Regions from separate parts of the Homo sapiens genome. Here all the other regions are linked to region 2. The links are contacts of gene promoters, found by promoter capture Hi-C in blood cells and fetal thymus (Javierre and others, 2016). All regions are on one chromosome and are shown on one strand. Each heading gives the region's core, a stretch centred on a gene start or on the middle of the fragment in contact. The rest is flanking DNA. Distances are from core to core; before and after follow the strand shown.

What was found. Contacts are between HindIII fragments. The CHiCAGO score rates a contact against its expected background, and 5 or more counts as called.
Region 1: a fragment that was not itself captured here is called in contact with the fragment with the promoter of EDC4 in region 2 in 1 of 17 cell types (neutrophils); the score reaches 5.6 in neutrophils.
Region 3: a contact is called between a fragment that was not itself captured here and the fragment with the promoter of EDC4 in region 2, in 9 of 17 cell types (M1 macrophages, naive B cells, neutrophils and 6 more). The highest score is 6.8, in M1 macrophages.
Region 4: a contact is called between a fragment that was not itself captured here and the fragment with the promoter of EDC4 in region 2, in 1 of 17 cell types (erythroblasts). The highest score is 5.4, in erythroblasts.
Region 5: a fragment that was not itself captured here is called in contact with the fragment with the promoter of EDC4 in region 2 in 1 of 17 cell types (megakaryocytes); the score reaches 5.0 in megakaryocytes.
Region 6: a contact is called between a fragment that was not itself captured here and the fragment with the promoter of EDC4 in region 2, in 4 of 17 cell types (naive B cells, naive CD4 T cells, naive CD8 T cells and 1 more). The highest score is 5.7, in naive B cells.

The regions. Positions count from the first base shown.
Region 1 is chr16:68,113,980-68,116,679 of GRCh38, reverse strand. All of the region lies in intron 1 of NFATC3 (nuclear factor of activated T cells 3), which reads right to left. Among named protein-coding and RNA genes, the nearest start is that of NFATC3, 30 kb to the right of the region's middle. The HindIII fragment of the contact is 6,857 bases long and covers 1-2,700 here.
Region 2 is chr16:67,871,626-67,874,325 of GRCh38, reverse strand. EDC4 (enhancer of mRNA decapping 4) reads right to left here and starts at 1,274. Exons shown (of 29, transcript NM_014329.5): 1 at 983-1,274. The coding sequence starts at 1,064. NUTF2 (nuclear transport factor 2) reads right to left here. Exons shown (of 5, transcript NM_005796.3): 5 at 1,759-2,700. RefSeq lists an enhancer at 558-1,058 and a silencer at 952-1,161. The HindIII fragment of the contact is 5,556 bases long and covers 1-2,700 here.
Region 3 is chr16:68,072,480-68,075,179 of GRCh38, reverse strand. It overlaps DUS2 (dihydrouridine synthase 2), which reads right to left. Exons shown (of 17, transcript NM_017803.5): 13 at 1,025-1,146. Among named protein-coding and RNA genes, the nearest start is that of NFATC3, 12 kb to the left of the region's middle. The HindIII fragment of the contact is 1,112 bases long and covers 859-1,970 here.
Region 4 is chr16:67,712,104-67,714,803 of GRCh38, reverse strand. The region is part of intron 1 of GFOD2 (Gfo/Idh/MocA-like oxidoreductase domain containing 2); the gene reads left to right. Among named protein-coding and RNA genes, the nearest start is that of GFOD2, 5.9 kb to the left of the region's middle. The HindIII fragment of the contact is 4,334 bases long and covers 1-2,700 here.
Region 5 is chr16:67,692,663-67,695,362 of GRCh38, reverse strand. All of the region lies in intron 1 of GFOD2 (Gfo/Idh/MocA-like oxidoreductase domain containing 2), which reads left to right. Among named protein-coding and RNA genes, the nearest start is that of GFOD2, 25 kb to the left of the region's middle. The HindIII fragment of the contact is 1,760 bases long and covers 505-2,264 here.
Region 6 is chr16:68,027,580-68,030,352 of GRCh38, reverse strand. The region is part of intron 2 of DUS2 (dihydrouridine synthase 2); the gene reads right to left. Among named protein-coding and RNA genes, the nearest start is that of DUS2, 5.7 kb to the right of the region's middle. The HindIII fragment of the contact is 2,127 bases long and covers 289-2,415 here.

The DNA of each region.
Region 1 (2,700 bases), core at 121-2,620, 240 kb before region 2:
ACATCTTCTACGTCAGAATGATGTCTTAAAGTGCTGCAGAGACCTGCACACAAAATTTGTGGGAATGCTGCTTTATCTTTTTCCCAAGTGTCCAACCTCTGGAAATGATATAAGCAGCTACTACAATCTAACTATGACGAACAGTCCTAAGTCCAGATTTCCAAGTCTAGAATTCTCAAATTCAAGGTGCTTCAGAAATTTCACCATCTCAAGAATTACTTGTTCCATGTTCCTTCAACCACCAGAGGGACTCATGCAAGCATACAGTAATCTGGACAACCCAAGTTGTCTTATGAATGTTTTTATGTATAGTATGAAGCAGAGGTTGGCAAAATACAGTCCATGTGCCAAGTCTGGCCCACCAACAAGTGGTAGGCCACATTTAAAATCATTAGTTTGTAGGCTATAGAAAGCCTACAGATAATAGTTTGTCTTTCTATAGCCTACAAACTAATGGTTTTAAATGGTTTCAAAAAATTGTTTTTAACTGTGTCATGACAAAAAAAAGTTATGATTCAAATTCTGGTATCCATAAATAACGTTTTACTGAAACACAACCATGCTCATTCATTTATATACTATCTATGGTTATTTTCACACAAGGGTAGAACTGAGTAACTGTCAAAGGGACCACATGTACTACCCCTATTCCTTCACATTGCTGCTTGATGGACACAAATTGCAGTGACAAAGTTCTAATGAGTGCAATGCATACGTATATACTGTGACTTTAAAAAAATTTTTACTAGTGCATAACACAAAAAGAAAAGTAGACTTTGAATGTTGCCCTTTTAAAGCACAGTGGAGTGTGGTTATACTGTTATCAAATTAGATGTGCAATAACATTATGGCCATATATATGCATTACCACAGTAATGCATTCATCATAATACTCCCAACTCACAGGAAAAGAAAAAAAATTTAAAACAAACAACAACAACAAAAAAAAACAATCGGCCAGGTATGGTGGCTCACGCCTGTAATTCCAGCACTTTGGGAGGCCAAAGGGGGCAGATCACTTGAGATCAGGAGTCCAAGACCAGCCTGGCCAACATGGTGAAACCCTGTCTCTACTAAAAATACAAAAATTAGCTGGGCATGGTGCCGCGTGCCTGTAATCCCAGCTACTTGGGAGGCTGGGGCAGGGGAATCAGTTGAACCCGGGAGGCGGAGGTCGCAGTAAGCCGAGATTGCGCTACTACTGCACTCTAGCCTGTGTGACAAGAGCAAGACTCCGTCTCTCAAAAAAAACAAAAACAAAAAACAAAGAAAATAAAATGGCTCATTTGCTAGCAAAGTAAAGAAAGTCATTTACTGGGGCCGGGTGCAGCGGCTCATGCCTATAATCCCAGCAATTTGGGAAGCTGAGGCAGGTGGATCACAAGGTCAGGAGTTCGAGACCAGCCTGGACAACATGGCAAAACCTCATCTCTACTAAAATACAAAATTTAGCCAGGCATAGTGGCAGGCGCTTGTAATCCCAGCTACTTGGGAGGCTGAGGCAAGGCGAATCACTTGAAGCCGGGAGGCGGAGGTTGCAGTGAGCTGAGATTGCACCACTGCATTCCAGCCTCGGTGACAGAGTGAGACTTGGTCTCAAAAAAAAAAAAAGAAAGTCATTTACTGATGGTGAGTTATTTAAATTGTGTTTCACCGGAGAAACCACGGAAATATGTTCAGAGAAAAACTTACAAGACTATTAGCCTTTCAGCAAGAACAACTGGTAGAAAAACTGAGGACATTGGTAGCAACATTAATAGGTTAATTACAAAATAAAACAAACGATTTCCTTAAAAAGTGGTTTTCCGGCCAGGTGCGGTGGCTGACGCCTGTAATCTCAGCACTTTGGGAGGCAGAGGCAGGCGGATCACGAGATCAGGAGTTCGAGACTATCCTGGCCAACATGGTGAAACCCCGTCTCTACTAAACATACAAAAATTATCTGGGCGTGGTGGCACTTGCCTGTAATCCCAGCTACTTGGGAGGCTGAGGTAGGAGAATCATTTGAACCAGGGAGTCGGAGGTTGCAGTGAGCCAAGATTGCACCACAGCACTCCAGCCTGGCAACAAAGCAAGACTCCGTCTCAAAAAAAAAAAAAAAAAGTGCTTTTCCTTGGCCCTTGATGTGCTGCCAGATGTTACCAACATCTGCTCAGTTGTTATTTATTGAAGAGTCAATGCAGAGTTTAAAGTGACTAAACAATTAGCCTCCATGAATAGTGTGAAAGAAACAACTTCAAGAAAAAACATTTGCAAAGAAGTTAAGAAAACACTAGTTTAGGCAGGAGGAGCCAAGATGGCTGATTAGAAGCCACTCCAGTCTGCGGCTCCCACTAAGAGGAGCAAAAACGGCCAGTGAATCCTGCTCCGTCAACTGAGGTATCCAGGTTCTCTCACTGGGACTGACTAGGTGGTTGGTGTGATCCACACAGAGCTAGGAAAAGCAGGGTAGAGCGACAACCTGACCTGGTAGCCACAAAGGCGAACTCCCACACCCAGCCAAGGGAGGTGGTGAGTAACTGTGCTACCCTGCGCGGGAAACCAGACTTTTTCCACAGATCTGTACATCCCATGGATCAGGAAATCCCCTCATGAGCCCACGCCACCAAGGCCTTGGGACCCAAGCACAGAGCTGTGCAACCTGCTCAGGTTGTGGCTAGCAGCAGCAGGCTGGACACTGCCTAAGACTACCAAGTTCCC
Region 2 (2,700 bases), core at 25-2,524:
AGAACAAGATCTGAGGAAACACAATTCTCCACTGTACGCCCACACCATCATCACCGGCCACTTCAGAGATCCCTAAACCTGTCAGTAAACTAGTGCCTGCACACGTGCTATTTCCTCTTCCTAATAGGTGGCTTCTCCATAGGTGCCTTGGGTGCCTTTCCTGACACCCAAGCCCCTGTTCACATTACAAGACCTAGCCCAGTCTCCCCTCTCAGACCTGCACTCTGCACTCACCAGCCTCCACCCTTCCCACGCCCATCACAGTATCGAGACACTCCTTTCTTTCAATGACAACAGTATATTACAACCCTGTTAGCTGTGTCTTGGGGAATCTTTGGGGGCAAGACTAGTTCTGAGGTATCATTAAGAGCCAAAGCGAAATATGAATGAATGGGAACCAATTAGGGCTTGCAGATATTTGTAGCATAATTCAGTCAGGGTGGTGCGGTCTGTGATTTGCCTTCATCCCAGAAAGAACACGGAATTGAGACTGGACACCTTCCTCCTGGAAATCAGTTTCAGAACGGGAGGCCTGGAGTCTTTATTCCAGAGAGAAGGGCAAGTTATGGAGGGGGACCGGCAGCTCTTCAGCATCGCGCTTAAGCCTGGGCCCAGAATTCCATATACGGAGCCCAGACCAGGCCTCTGAACCATGGAGAAAGGGAAGAGGAGCTAGGCCAGTCCCAGGAACACTAGAGACCTCGGGGCCAGGAAACCAGAGGGCCCCAGCGGATTCAGAGAAGGCGCCTCACCTTCAACCGAGACGCTGAAGGACAAGGCAGAACAGCCTGAGGACAAGATAGGGAGGGGTCACACCCAGGGGTCTGCGCCCTTCGAGGGGCACAGTCAATCCCCGTCCACCCTTACCCGCCGGGAGGATCCAGAGCTAGTCCTAAGGGAGCTGTGGGCCCCAATGGCGGTTCAGACGCGCGCCGCCCTTTTGTCAGCTCGCCTGGGGCCCACCCCCGCAACCCCCGCTCACCGCCCGCGGGCCGGTCCAGCTTGAGGATGTCCCGCAGGTGCTGCGTGGCGTCCTCGATGTCGATGCTCGCGCAGGAGGCCATGGGCCCTGCGGCGGGCGCCCCGCCCGCACCGCGTTCGTTCCGCCGCCGCCGCGCACCACGCACCCTCGCTCACCCGCCACGGGGCGAGACAGCGGGACGCCGGTCACTACACAGTCCACCCGCAGTTCGCAAACCGCCACCCGCGCAGCGTCGCTGAGCCCCGCCAACCCCACCAACCGCCTCCACTTCCGGCACCCACGAGCCGAGGCTCCCGGAACCTGCCAGGGCCGGAGAAGAAAGGTTCCGGGCTGGGGGCGGAAGCCTAAACCCCTCCCGCAGCCAGTCCCCCTCGGCGGCCCCGCCCCTGTGTCCGCGAGGTCAGGAAAGTCCCACGGGGCTGAAGTAAGCGTCCACGCACTGGGCCACCTAAAGCCCTACTCGACTCAGAAGGCGCCAGGTCCCTGCCCACTCCCAGAGCATGGACTCCGATGGTCCTGGGACGGGGTCAACTTAGCCGCCCATGCTAAGGTCCCTCAGACCCCCAGAATATGCTGAATTGGCAGGTGCCTCAGGTTCCCTTTGGGAATGGGTCGGAATAACTCAAGGCCTGAGGCTACCCTCGAGGTCATAAAACTCAGGAATTGCAAGAGCAGGGGAGATGATCCCACTACAATGACCAGTCATTGTTCCCTACTGTCCCCCAGCATCCCCTTGTCCCACCTGGCACCCTCAGGTTGGAAGAAAGAAACCACAGTTTACAAATTCTTCTTTATTGCAGACAGTTCAGGCACAGGTACATGGAAGAAGCCGTATTGCAGATTTTACACAAGGTGGTTTGAGGCAGCAGGCACCTACCTCTTCCCCACCCCCACTTCCCCAAATACACATCAGCCTAGAGATCATTCCCACTGAAATCTCCTGAGCATGCTGTCCTCTCAAACAGCACACCATCCAGCCCTGTGCCCAATGTCACCAGGCAATCTGTGGGATCTGAGGAGGTCCTTAGCCTCCACCCGTAGTGGGACAGGGGAAGGGTATCCTTTTACATGTCAGATTTAGCTGTGGTGTCCTTACCAATCCTAAAACCCTTAACAGGGCACTGACCCAAATCTTGGGTTTGGTTCTAGCCTATGGTTGCTACATTGCCACTAGGTTTATACCATCCAGAAGTCTGTGGGACAAGGGGCTAGATTTGTACTGGGCAAGGCCTTTGTCCCCAAAATGGAGAAGCAGAAACTGCCCTAATAGCTAAGACTCCCCGGAATTGGAAGATAGCATGAAGTCTGTATGCTGAGGAAGGAAGTGGAGAGAGGCCTGGCAATGTCCTGCAGCAGTCTGAGGGGTGAGGACTCCTAAAGCATGAGTCCCTCACAGACTGCCTCCTTCCACAGCTCCTGACCTATACTCCAACACAACTGGGCCTGGCTCTGTGGGCAGTGGAGGCTGGCTCTTCGGGTTACCTGCCTTTGGGTAAAGATATCCAAAGCAGATGGGACAGGAGCTGAGCTGCCCTCTGCCTGGCTTGGTGTATGTGGGGCATCCTGGATATGATCCTGATCCTTCTGGGGATAGAGCAGGCCCCTCCCTTGATACTGCTGACAACTCAGCCCGGAGGGCCTGAACGTGATGAGCCATTTTGCCAAGGCCTCTCCAGCTTCAACAGGATTCAGGATCATCTCTCCTGCTACTAGGGCCC
Region 3 (2,700 bases), core at 165-2,664, 200 kb before region 2:
AAGATGGAAAGTGAATGTGAACCCAAGCGTGGACACTGGAGGGAGGCTGGGCTGGGTGGCAAAGGTTGTAAAGGTCACCCCCACCACCTGCAGCCTCTCTCCTGAGGGGAAGCACACAGATGGTATCCCCAGCCAGCCGTGACTGAGTTAACCAATGCTGATCAAGCACATGGGCCCATGGGAGGAAGAGACAGAGGCCTGACCACTAAGTGGTTCCCCACTTCCCGCCCAGCCACAGGCAGTTATACATGGGTCTCAGCTGACACTGAGGCACCACCCAGAGCTACAGAGTTATGTGGGGTAGGGACTGAACCAATGCCATAAGCCAAGGGTGGGAAGAGGGCTCTGGCAAAGGTTTTTCCCTTCTAGGAAACATCTTGAAGGCTGGAAGACTCAAACGAAGATAGATCCCCAATGGCAAAAGTGGTTCAGAAAGGCATCTATGTAAGAGGGAGGCTACAGATAGCTCACGTGAGAGGGAGAGAGCCTTCCAGGCAGACGACCCATTACAAGCACAGGTGTGGAGTTCTGGAAGCAGACAGGTAGACAGGGAGCTGTGGGGGCAGTGGCTAGGCCAGCTTGTGAAGGGCCTCAACTGTCAACCATCTGAGCTAGAGCTGCACCTGATCTAGAGAATCAACAGGTGGTCTCTCAAACTGCAGGGTGATGGATGTGAGTGCAGGCTCAAGGTAGAGGCTCCATGCTACAGCCCAATTCTCCTGACCACTGGTTCCTGGGGGCCTGGCCTGTGACTATCCCATTTATGGAAAATCCCCTTCCTTTGCATTCCTCTATCCTTCTAGTACCCTAGTTCCCAGAGCTCTGCTGATCCGTCCAGGGATGGGACGTTTCAAAGCTTTCAAAGAATCCCCTCCTGGGAGGCAAAGCTGTACCATCACTCCACTCCTCTACATCTACATCCAGAAGCTGTGTCCCTGGTCCCCTGGTGGAGTCAGCTTAGGGCTCAAAGTCAAACTTGGGCAATGCGTACAAGGACAGATGGACATCTTATTGTGCCTCTTACCAAATTTCCCGGGAAGACTGGGCAGCATGGAGCAACCTTCCCTGGGGCGACTCCAGCTGTTCTCGTAGCATCTGGCACAAGCAGTACTTGGTGTTGGTGTAGTGGTTGTCATACTGCACCGCCTGAGAAAAGAAATGACTTGCCTGATGCCCAGGCAGGCTCTAAGGCCTGGGCTATGCTCTGATGGCAGGGAAAGGAGCTCCAAGAAGGCACCAGAGATGTATGTGTAGCCAAGGCAATGTGACCCCCATAAGAAGAACCACCACTGGCCAGGAGCAGTGGCTCACATCTGTAATCCCAGCACTCTGAGAGGCCAATGCAGGAGGACTGCTTGAGGCTAGGAGTTCAAGAGCAGCCTGGGCAACGTAAGACTCAACTCTACAAAAATTAAAAAAAAGAAAATTATCGGCTGGGCACGGTGGCTCACGCCTGTAATCACAGCACCTTGGGAGGCCAAGGCGGGCGGATCACCTGAGGTCAGGAGTTCAAGACCAGCCTGACCAACATGGTGAAGCCCCGTCTCTACTAAAAATACAAAATTAGCTGGGCGTGGTGGCGGGTGCCTGTAATCCCAGCTACTCGGGAGGCTGAGGCAAGAGAATCGCTTGAACCCTGGAGGCGAAGGTTGCGGTGAGCCAAGATCGTGCCACTGCACTCCAGCCTGGGCGACAACAGCAAAACTCTGTCTCAAAAAAAAAAAAAAAAAGAAAAAGAAAATTAGCCAGGCATGTTGGCACACACCTGTAGCCATAGCTACTAGGGAGGCTAAGGCAAGAGGATTGCTTGCACCCAGGAGTTGTGGCTGTAGTGAGCTATGATCATGCCACTGCACTCCAGCCTGGGCAACAGACTGAGACCCTATCTAAAATTAAAAATAAAAATAAAAATAAATTAAAAAGCCACTTCGACCTTGGTCATCTACTCTTCCAGCTAGTGGTACAAAGCTTGAGGGTCACAGCCAAGGACCACGGTCAGAAACACATTCTCCTGGACAGCCTGACTGAGGTCTCGAAGTGCGGGAGCCCCTTCCTGCTTCAGCCACCACAGAGGACCTACTGCCAAGTATCTTCCAGGGAAGGGAGGGGAAACACACCAAATTCTGGCATGGCAGGTCCAGTGCCAGGAAAGGGGTGAGATTCTTCTATTCCTTCTAACCAGAATGGGCACCTTCCCTTCCCACATCTTGAATAGCCTCTAACTTCCCCCTACGTGGGTAAAACACAGCATCATTTAGTTCACATGGGTTACTCATGACTACATTTATCTATACAAGTGTGAGGTGCAACTGTCACCATCACTCCACAGACCGTGAAATGAAGGCTCAGGGAGGCAAGATGACTGACTGCCTGGGACACCCAGTGGAAGTCGGCTGGCTAGAGGTAGGGCAGGAGAGCAGTATTGGGTGAAGGTGGCCTTCCCCAGCCCTCCAGGACACCCTCCCATCCCCCACCCCCTATGCTGCTCTAGTAACTCCACGTGGGCCTATGACTTCAGTGGCTGGGAAAGTGCCACGGCACGCTCAGGACAAAGTGGGAAGTAAGTCGGGGCGCCCCGGCTGGTGGCAAGTCCTTGACTCAGCTTGTCTGGGAAGAAGGCACCTGGCTGGACCAGAAGCAGCCCTGCCTATGCTTGAAAGCCGCTCCCTTTCTCTGTGATAGCACACCCTCTTGAGGAGC
Region 4 (2,700 bases), core at 167-2,666, 160 kb after region 2:
GAGCTTCTGTAAAGATTTCTATCAGTCCTCTATAATCAAGGATTTGGAATGAAGACTGTGAAAAATGGGAACTGAGTACTTAGTGTGGTCTTCCTTTCTGGCCTGGGATAACTGTGCTACTCTCAAATTGTCAGCTCTCAATTTCTCATGAGAATAGATAACCCCAAAATAGAACCCAAAACACTTCTACTTGGCTTTGAGATTTTACTGTATCACTTTATAACCTCAAAATCTTTATTATTTACTTTCATAATTGTATTTTACTTAGGATGATAACCTTAGGCAAATCGTGTAATTTCTGGATCGTAATTTTTTTTTTTTTTTTTTTTTGAGACAGTGTTTCTATCTCCCAGGCTGGAGTGTAGTGGCACAATCCCGGCTCACTGCAATGTCCACTTCTGGGTTCAAGCGATTCTTGTGCCTCAGCCTCCCGAGTAGCTGGGATTACAGGTGTGCGCCTTCATGCCTGGCTAATTTTTGTATTTTTAGTAGAGATGGGGTTTCGTCATGTTGGCCAGGCTGGTCTTGAACTCCTGGCCTCAGTGATCGGCTCACCTCAGCCTCCCAAAGTGCTGGGATTACAGTTGGGAGTGACCCTGCCTGGCCTCTGGACCATAATTTCTTAACCTGTATAACAGGAAGCAAAATGAAAATGTCATAAATGTGTAACACTAGAGAATGAAAAGCTAGTTCATACGGTCAGTGGCTGTGATATTGTGAAATACATATTTGGTCTTCTGTCTCTGTTTCCTGGCATGCAATTTCAATAGGTTGGTGCAAAAGCAATTGCAGATTTTGCCGCAAAGTAATGGCAAAAACCGCAGTTGCTTTTGCACCAACCAAATCCCTGGAATCTCCTGAGTGATGGTTTTTTGTATGCTAATGAGTTAACTGGTGGCTGGCAGCTCCTGGGTAGTTTCAGGCTGGGGACTGGTCATAGGAAACATCAAAGCATGATTAGAGGGTTGTGACTTTCAGCCCCACTCTGCAACCTCTGGGGAGGAGAGTGGGACTGAAGGTTAAGTTGATCGTCAATGGCCAGTGGTTTAATCAATCATGCCTAGTTAATGAAGCCTCCATAAACACAGGGAGGGCATGAAAGCTCCAAGCCCCTTCCCCCATACCTTGCCCTATGCACCTTCTTCATCTCTATCCTTTGTAATATTCTTTATAATAAACCAGTAAATATAAGTAAGTGTTTCCCAGAGTTCTGTGAGCTGCTCTAGCAAATTAGTTGATCTGAAGGAGGGAGTCATAGGATCTCCAGTCTGTAGCCCATCAGGCAGAGGCACAGTTGAAACAACCTGGGGCTTTTGATGGCATTGGAAGTCGGGAAGGGGAAGTCTGTGGGACTGAGCCCTCTACCTGGGGGATCTGATGCGATTCTCCAGGTAGATATCGTCAGAATTGAATTGAAGGACACCAGCAGGTGTTGACTGCAGAATTGCTTGCTTGCTTGGTGTGTGGGGAGAAACCCCCACACATTTGGTCTTCTGTGTTGATTATTGTGGTGTGAAAGCAGAGGAAAAACAATTTGAATTTGTCTTTCCACTTTCACAATGACATACCTGTTATGTAACCCATAAAACTATTTATGATAACATGAAAGATGCTTATGTCTGGCCAGTGTGGCGGCTCACGCCTGTAATCCCAGTACTTTCGGAGGCCGAGGTGGGCGGATCACTTGAGGCCAGGAGTTCAAGACCAGCCTGACCAAGATGGCGAAACCCTGTCTCTATAAAAAATAAAAAAAATTAGCTGGGTGTGGTGGTGCATGCCTGTAGTCCCAGCTACTCAGGAGGCTGAGGCAGGAAAATCACTTGAACTTGAGCGCCCAGCAGAGGCGCTCCTCACATCCCAGACAGGGCGGCGGGGCAGAGGTGCTCCCCACATCTCAGACGATGGGCGGCCGGGCAGAGACGCTCCTCACTTCCTAGATGGGATGGCGGCGGGGAAGAGGCGCTCCTCGCTTCCCAGATGGGATGGCGGCCGGGCAGAGACGCTCCTCACTTTCCAGACTGGGCAGCCAGGCAGAGGGGCTCCTCACATCCCAGACGATGGGTGGCCAAGCAGAGACGCTCCTCACTTCCCAGACGGGGTGGCGGCCGGGCAGAGGCTGCAATCTCGGCTCTCCGGGAGGCCAAGGCAGGCGGCTGGGAGGTGGTTGCAGCGAGCCGAGATCACGCCACTGCACTCCAGCCTGGGCACCATTGAGCACTGAGTGAACGAGACTCCATCTGCAATCCCGGCACCTCGGGAGGCCGAGGCTGGCGGATCACTCGCGGCTAGGAGCTGGAGACCAGCCCGGCCAACACAGCGAAACCCCGTCTCCACCAAAAAAAAAACGAAAACCAGTCAGGCGTGGCGGTGCGCGCCTGCAATCGCAGGCACTCGGCAGGCTGAGGCAGGAGAATCAGGCAGGGAGGTTGCAGTGAGCCGAGATGGCAGCAGTACCGTCCAGCCTTGGCTCGGCATCAGAGGGAGACCGTGGAGGGAGAGGGAGAGGGGGAGGGGGAGGGGGAGGGGGAGAGGGAGAGGGAGAGGGAGCTCTTTATTACATTTTTAAACATTGCAAGAGCCTACTGATGGTTTTGGTGAGCTCAGTATATATGGTTTTCTATAGTATGGTTTTGATGGGCTCAGTATATATGTCTTAGTTTATTGACTGTGCAGGAACTAGGTCTGAAATCTTTCATTCTT
Region 5 (2,700 bases), core at 135-2,634, 180 kb after region 2:
TTTCTAAGAAAACTAGTAGAGAAGCCTGTAGGGGCAGAATTAGCAAAGAGAAAAGAGAGAGATGGTGGCTGGGCTCAGTGGCTCATGCCTGTAATCCCAGCACTTTGGGAGGTCAAGGCGGGTGGATCACCTGAGGTCAGGAGTTCGAGACCAGCCTGGCCAACATGGTAAAACCTTGTCTCTACTAAAAATACAAAGATTAGCTGGGTATGGTGGCGTGTGCCTGTAACCCCAGCTACTGAGGTAGTAGCTGAGGCAAGGAGAATCGCTTGAACCGGAGCGGCAAAGGTTGCAGTGAGCCGAGATTGCACCATTACGCTCCAGCCTAGGCGACAGAGTGAGACTCCGTCTCAAAAAAAAAAAAAAAAAAAAAAAGAGAGAGATGGAGAAAGTAGAAAAGGAAAGCAAGGTGACTGAGTGGCCACAGACAGTTTACCATCAGAAAGAATGAAAGCTGGTTAAAATAAAACAACCCCAGTGAGAGTACAGGAGGCAAGCCAAGCTTCACAGTCACAGAGAGTGGAGACAAGAGGCACGAAATTGGCAGGGATCTGGAGTTAGAGGCAGCCCAAGTCATGTGTAATTTAGTGGTTCACAAAGGAACAGGTGTACTTCAGATAGAATCGAGCAGTACAGGATGTTATACTGGGCTATGCTGACAAACCATCCCCTACTATAGACATTTTCTTAGTCCAGTACACTTGTGTCTACAGTAGGAGCAAAAGAGATGCTGGGCTTGAAAATGAAGTTGAGAAAACAATTTCTCCAGCCGTGGTGTCTCATGCCTATAATCCCAGTGCTTTGGGTGGCCGAGGTGGGAGGATCACTTGAAGCCAGGAATTTAAGACCAGCCTGGGCAACATAGTAAGATGCTGCCTCTATATTAAAATAAAATTAAAAAAAACTTTTTTATTAAAAAGCCAGGCTCAGTGGGTCACGCTTATAATCCCACCACCTTGGGAGGCTGAGCTGAGAGAATCGCTTGAGGCCAGGAGTTTGAGGCCAGAGTTTGAGACCAGCCTAGGTAACACAGTGAGACCCCATCTCTACAAAAAATAAAAAATTAGGCCAGGCTCAGTGGCTCATGCCTGTAATCCCAGCACTTCTGGAGGCCCAGGCGAGCGGATCACCTGAGGTCAGGAGTTTGAGACCAGCCTGGCGAACATGGTGAAACCCTGTCTCTACTAAAAATACAAAAAAATTAGCCAGGTGTGATGGCGTGTGCCTGTAATCCCAGCCAGTCAGGAGGCTGAGGCAGGAGAATCGCCTCAGCCTCAGAGCTCGGGAGGTGGAAGTTGCAGTGAGCCAAGATTGCACCACTGCATTCCAGCCTGGGTGATAGAGCAAGACTCTGTCTTAAAAAAAAAAAAGTATGTCCTAAATGCCACTGGATTATGGGGGTTGGTTTTTTTGTTTGTTTGTTTGTTTTTTGTTTTTGAGACAGAGTCTTTCTGTTGCTCTGTCACCCAGGCTGGAGTGCAATGGCATGATCATAACCCACTATAGCCTGAAACTCCTGGGCACAAGTAATCCTCCCACCTCAGCCTCCCAAAGTGCTGGGATTACAGGCATGAGGCATTGCACCCAGCGGCCACTGAATTGTTCACTTTAAAATGGTTAATTTTGGCTGGGTACAGAGTTTCAGTATGGAATGATGATGAAGTCCTGGAGGTGGATGTTGGTGATGGTTGCACAATACGAATGTATTAGTGCACTGAACTGTACACCTAAAAATGGTTTAAAATGGTACATTCTGTAATGTACATTTTTCCACTTCCCAAAAAAGATTCTAGCCAGGGACCATGGCTCATGCCTGTAATCCCAGCAATTTGGGAGGCCAAGGCAGGAGGATTGCTTGAGCCCAGGAGTTTGAGACCAGCTTGGGCAACATGATGGAACCCTGTCTCTACAAAAAACACAAAAAATTAGCCAGGTATGATTAGCAGGGCGTGATGACACGCACCTATAGTCCCAGCCACTTACTTGAACCCAGGAGGCGGAGGTTGCAGTGAGTCGAGATGGCACCACTGGACTCCAGCCTGGGTGACAGAGTGAGACTGTGTCAAAAAAAAAAAAACCCAAAAAGCCAGGTGTGGTGGCTAATTTGAAATAAGGTTCTTTGTCTGAATTATAAGTGGTCCTGGCTAAATATGCAGATGCAGTGCTACTCCCTGGATTTGGCTAGATCAGGGAGCTTGTGATGGTGTCCCATTAGTAGGACCAGAGGTACATATATCTGTCACTTTGTGTTTGAAATGCAAGCTTTTTATTTAAAAAGTGAGAAAGGATTCCTTTTAGAACCACATTTTCCTTTTTTTTTTGTTTTTGTTTTTGAGACAGAGTCTCAATCTGTCGCCCAGGCTGGAGTGCAGTGGCGCAATCTCGGCTCACTGCAAGCTCTGCCTCCTGGGTTCACGCCATTCTCCCGCCTCAGCCTCCCGAGTAGCTGGGACTGCAGGTGCCCACCATCACGCCTGGATAATTTTGTTTTTGTATTTTTAGTAGAGACGGGGTTTTACCATGTTAGCCAGGATGGTCTCAATCTCCTGACCTCGTGATTCGCCCTCCTCAGCCTCCCAAAGAGCTGAGATTACAGGCATGAGCCACCGTGCCCGGCCTTTTTTTTTTTTTTTAAATTATTCCCCTTTATCCCCTTTCTCTACTCTGGTTTCCCTATCCCCTGTAAATGTATTTAGTATG
Region 6 (2,773 bases), core at 103-2,602, 160 kb before region 2:
CAAAGTGCTGGGATTGCAGATGTGAGTCACCACTCCTGGCCTCCGGTGGGGTTTTTAGAAAATCCTTGGAAACAGTTCTTATCTCAGACATGTAAGCATGAGCTTCCTCTACTTCACACCTTCCTTGTCCTATTTTGACAAAAGCGGTTTCATCCTGGTATCTGCAACTTTCATAATCCCATTAATTATAGTGCTTTCAGATTGAACATAACACTATTCAGGAAAAATAATGAGTATAAACAAACTTTACCATTCCCTTCCCTGTCAATTTTCCCCAAAGACAAAGCTTGCTTAAAAAGCAATTTCTGGCCAGGCATGGTGGCTCACACCTGTAATCCCAGCACTTTGGGAGGCTGAGGCGGGAGGATCGTTTGAGGCCAGGAGTTCAAGACCAGCCCAGGCAACATAATAAGACACCACCTCTACAAAAAATTAGCGGGGCATGGTGGTACACACCTGTGGTCCTAGGTACTCCACCTGCCTCAGCCTCCCAAAGTGTTGGGATTACAGGCGTGAGCCACTGCATCCAGCTCTAAAATTCAAATTTGGAAAGTCAACTAGAATCAAGTATTTACAGAATTATCTTATTTCCTAATCTGAACATGTGGCTGGGTCCAGTGGCTCATGCCTATAATCCCAACACTTTGGGAGGCCAAGGTGGGCAGATTACCTGAGCTCAGTAGTTCAAGACCAGCCTGGGCAACATGGCAAACCCCATCTATACCAAAAAATACAAAAATTAGCCGGGTATGGTGGTGCAGGCCTGTTATCCCACCTACTTGGGGGGCTGAGGCAGGAGAATCACTTGAACTTGTGAGGTGGAGGCTGCAGTGAGCCAAGATCGTATCACTGCACTCCAGCCTGGAAATTGGAGCAAGACTCTGCCTCAAAAAAATAAAAAAAGTGTAAATACACCAGGTGTGGTAGCTCACACCTGTAATCCTAACACTGGGAGGTTGAGGCAAGAGGATCATTTGAGCCCAAGAGTTCAAGACCAGTCAGGGCAACATAGTAAGACCCCATCTCTATTAAAAATAAAAATTAAAAACAAAAATTAAAAACAGAAAACAAAATACATGCACATGACAAAAAGTAAAAATGATTTGTTAGATTTGAGGAGAAAGAGGTGATATAGCTTTTTTTTTTTAGAGATGGGACCTTGCTGTGTTGCCCAGGCTGGAGTGCAGCGGCACAATCATGGCTCACTGCAGTCCCAAACTCCTGGGCTCTAGTGATCCTCCCATCTCAGCATCCGGAGTAACTGGGACTACAGGCATGTTCCACCACATCTAGCTAATTTTGTGTTTAAATTTTTCTGTAGCGATACAGTCTTGCTATGTTGCTCAGGCTAGTCTCCAACTCCTGGCCTCTAGCGATCCTCCTGCCTAACCTTCTGAAGTGCTGGAATCAGGCGTGACCCACTGTGCCCAGCCCTGATACAGCATTTCATAGTTAAGATCCTGAGCTCTGGAATTGGACAGACCTTCACTTGAATCCCAGCTGTGCCTCGGGCACATTAATTAACCCAGCTGAGCCTCAGCTTCTCCTTGTGGAATATGAGGCTCCACTATGGGAGTCAAAGGAAATGCTGTGAAGAGTGAATTCCATGGTGTACCACAGTTCTCAGCACATAGTAAAGGCTTAATAAATGTTAGCCACTCTCATCATGCTTTCACGGTTTCAACACTCTATTTTTTGTTTGTTTGTTTGTTTTGAGACGGAGTCTCCTACTGTCTCCCAGGATGGAGTGCAGTGGCGTGATCTCAGCTCACTGCAACCTCCGCCTCCCGGGTTCAAGCAATTCTCTTGCCTCAGCCTCTCGAGTAGCTGGGATTACAGGTGCCCACCACCACGCCCAGCTAATTTTTTGTATTTTTTTTTAGTAGGGATGGGGTTTCACCATGTTGGCCAGACTGGTCTCAAACTCCTGACTTCGTGATTCACCCGCCTTGGCCTCCCAAAGTGCTGGGATTACAGGTGTGAGCCACCGCGCCTGGCCTCTAACGTCTATTATTATGTTGTTATATCGACAAACATCTGCTAGCTCTTTTAAGATCAAGGCAGCGTGTGAGGTATAAAGACACGGAAAGCACTAAGCTCTTAACCTCAAAGAGCTTCTCAGCTCTACAACTGCCATCATCTATCAACTGAACCATGACAACAGTCTCCAAACCAGTCTCTCTGCCTCCAGGCTTATCACTTCCAATCCATGCTCCTTCCAGCCAAAGGGCTCTTTCCAAACGCAAAGATATGATACGCAAAACATGATAGTTCCATTTCTGGACGCCTTCCCTACTGCCTGTAAAATTAAGTCTACACTCTTTAACACAGTAAATATAAGGTCTGGTCTCCACCTTCCATAGAAGCCTCTTTCATCACCTGCCTCCTGCCCTCAGAACTCCCCCATGCTAAGCTTCAGCTATTCTTAAATATTTCTAGTTCCCCAGCCTGGCCTGCTCTCTCTCAGTATGGGATCTCTGAACAAGCTGTCCCTGCCCAGGGGCCACGTCCCTATTCTTCCACCTGGCTGACTCCCTGTAGACTTTTAGAACCTCATCACCTCCTCCTGGAAGCCTTCTCTGACCAACATCTCCCAAAACAGGGTAAAGGCATCTCTGAGCTCATTCCTGTCCTGGCATGGAGCTATCCTGGCAACTATTAATAGAAGAGCAACTATCTGTCAATATGCCTTCTTCACTGTAAGGTGAAAATAGGCACTGTGGCTTGTTCATCACCAGATCCTCATCAGAGAGCATACAATCTGGCATATGGT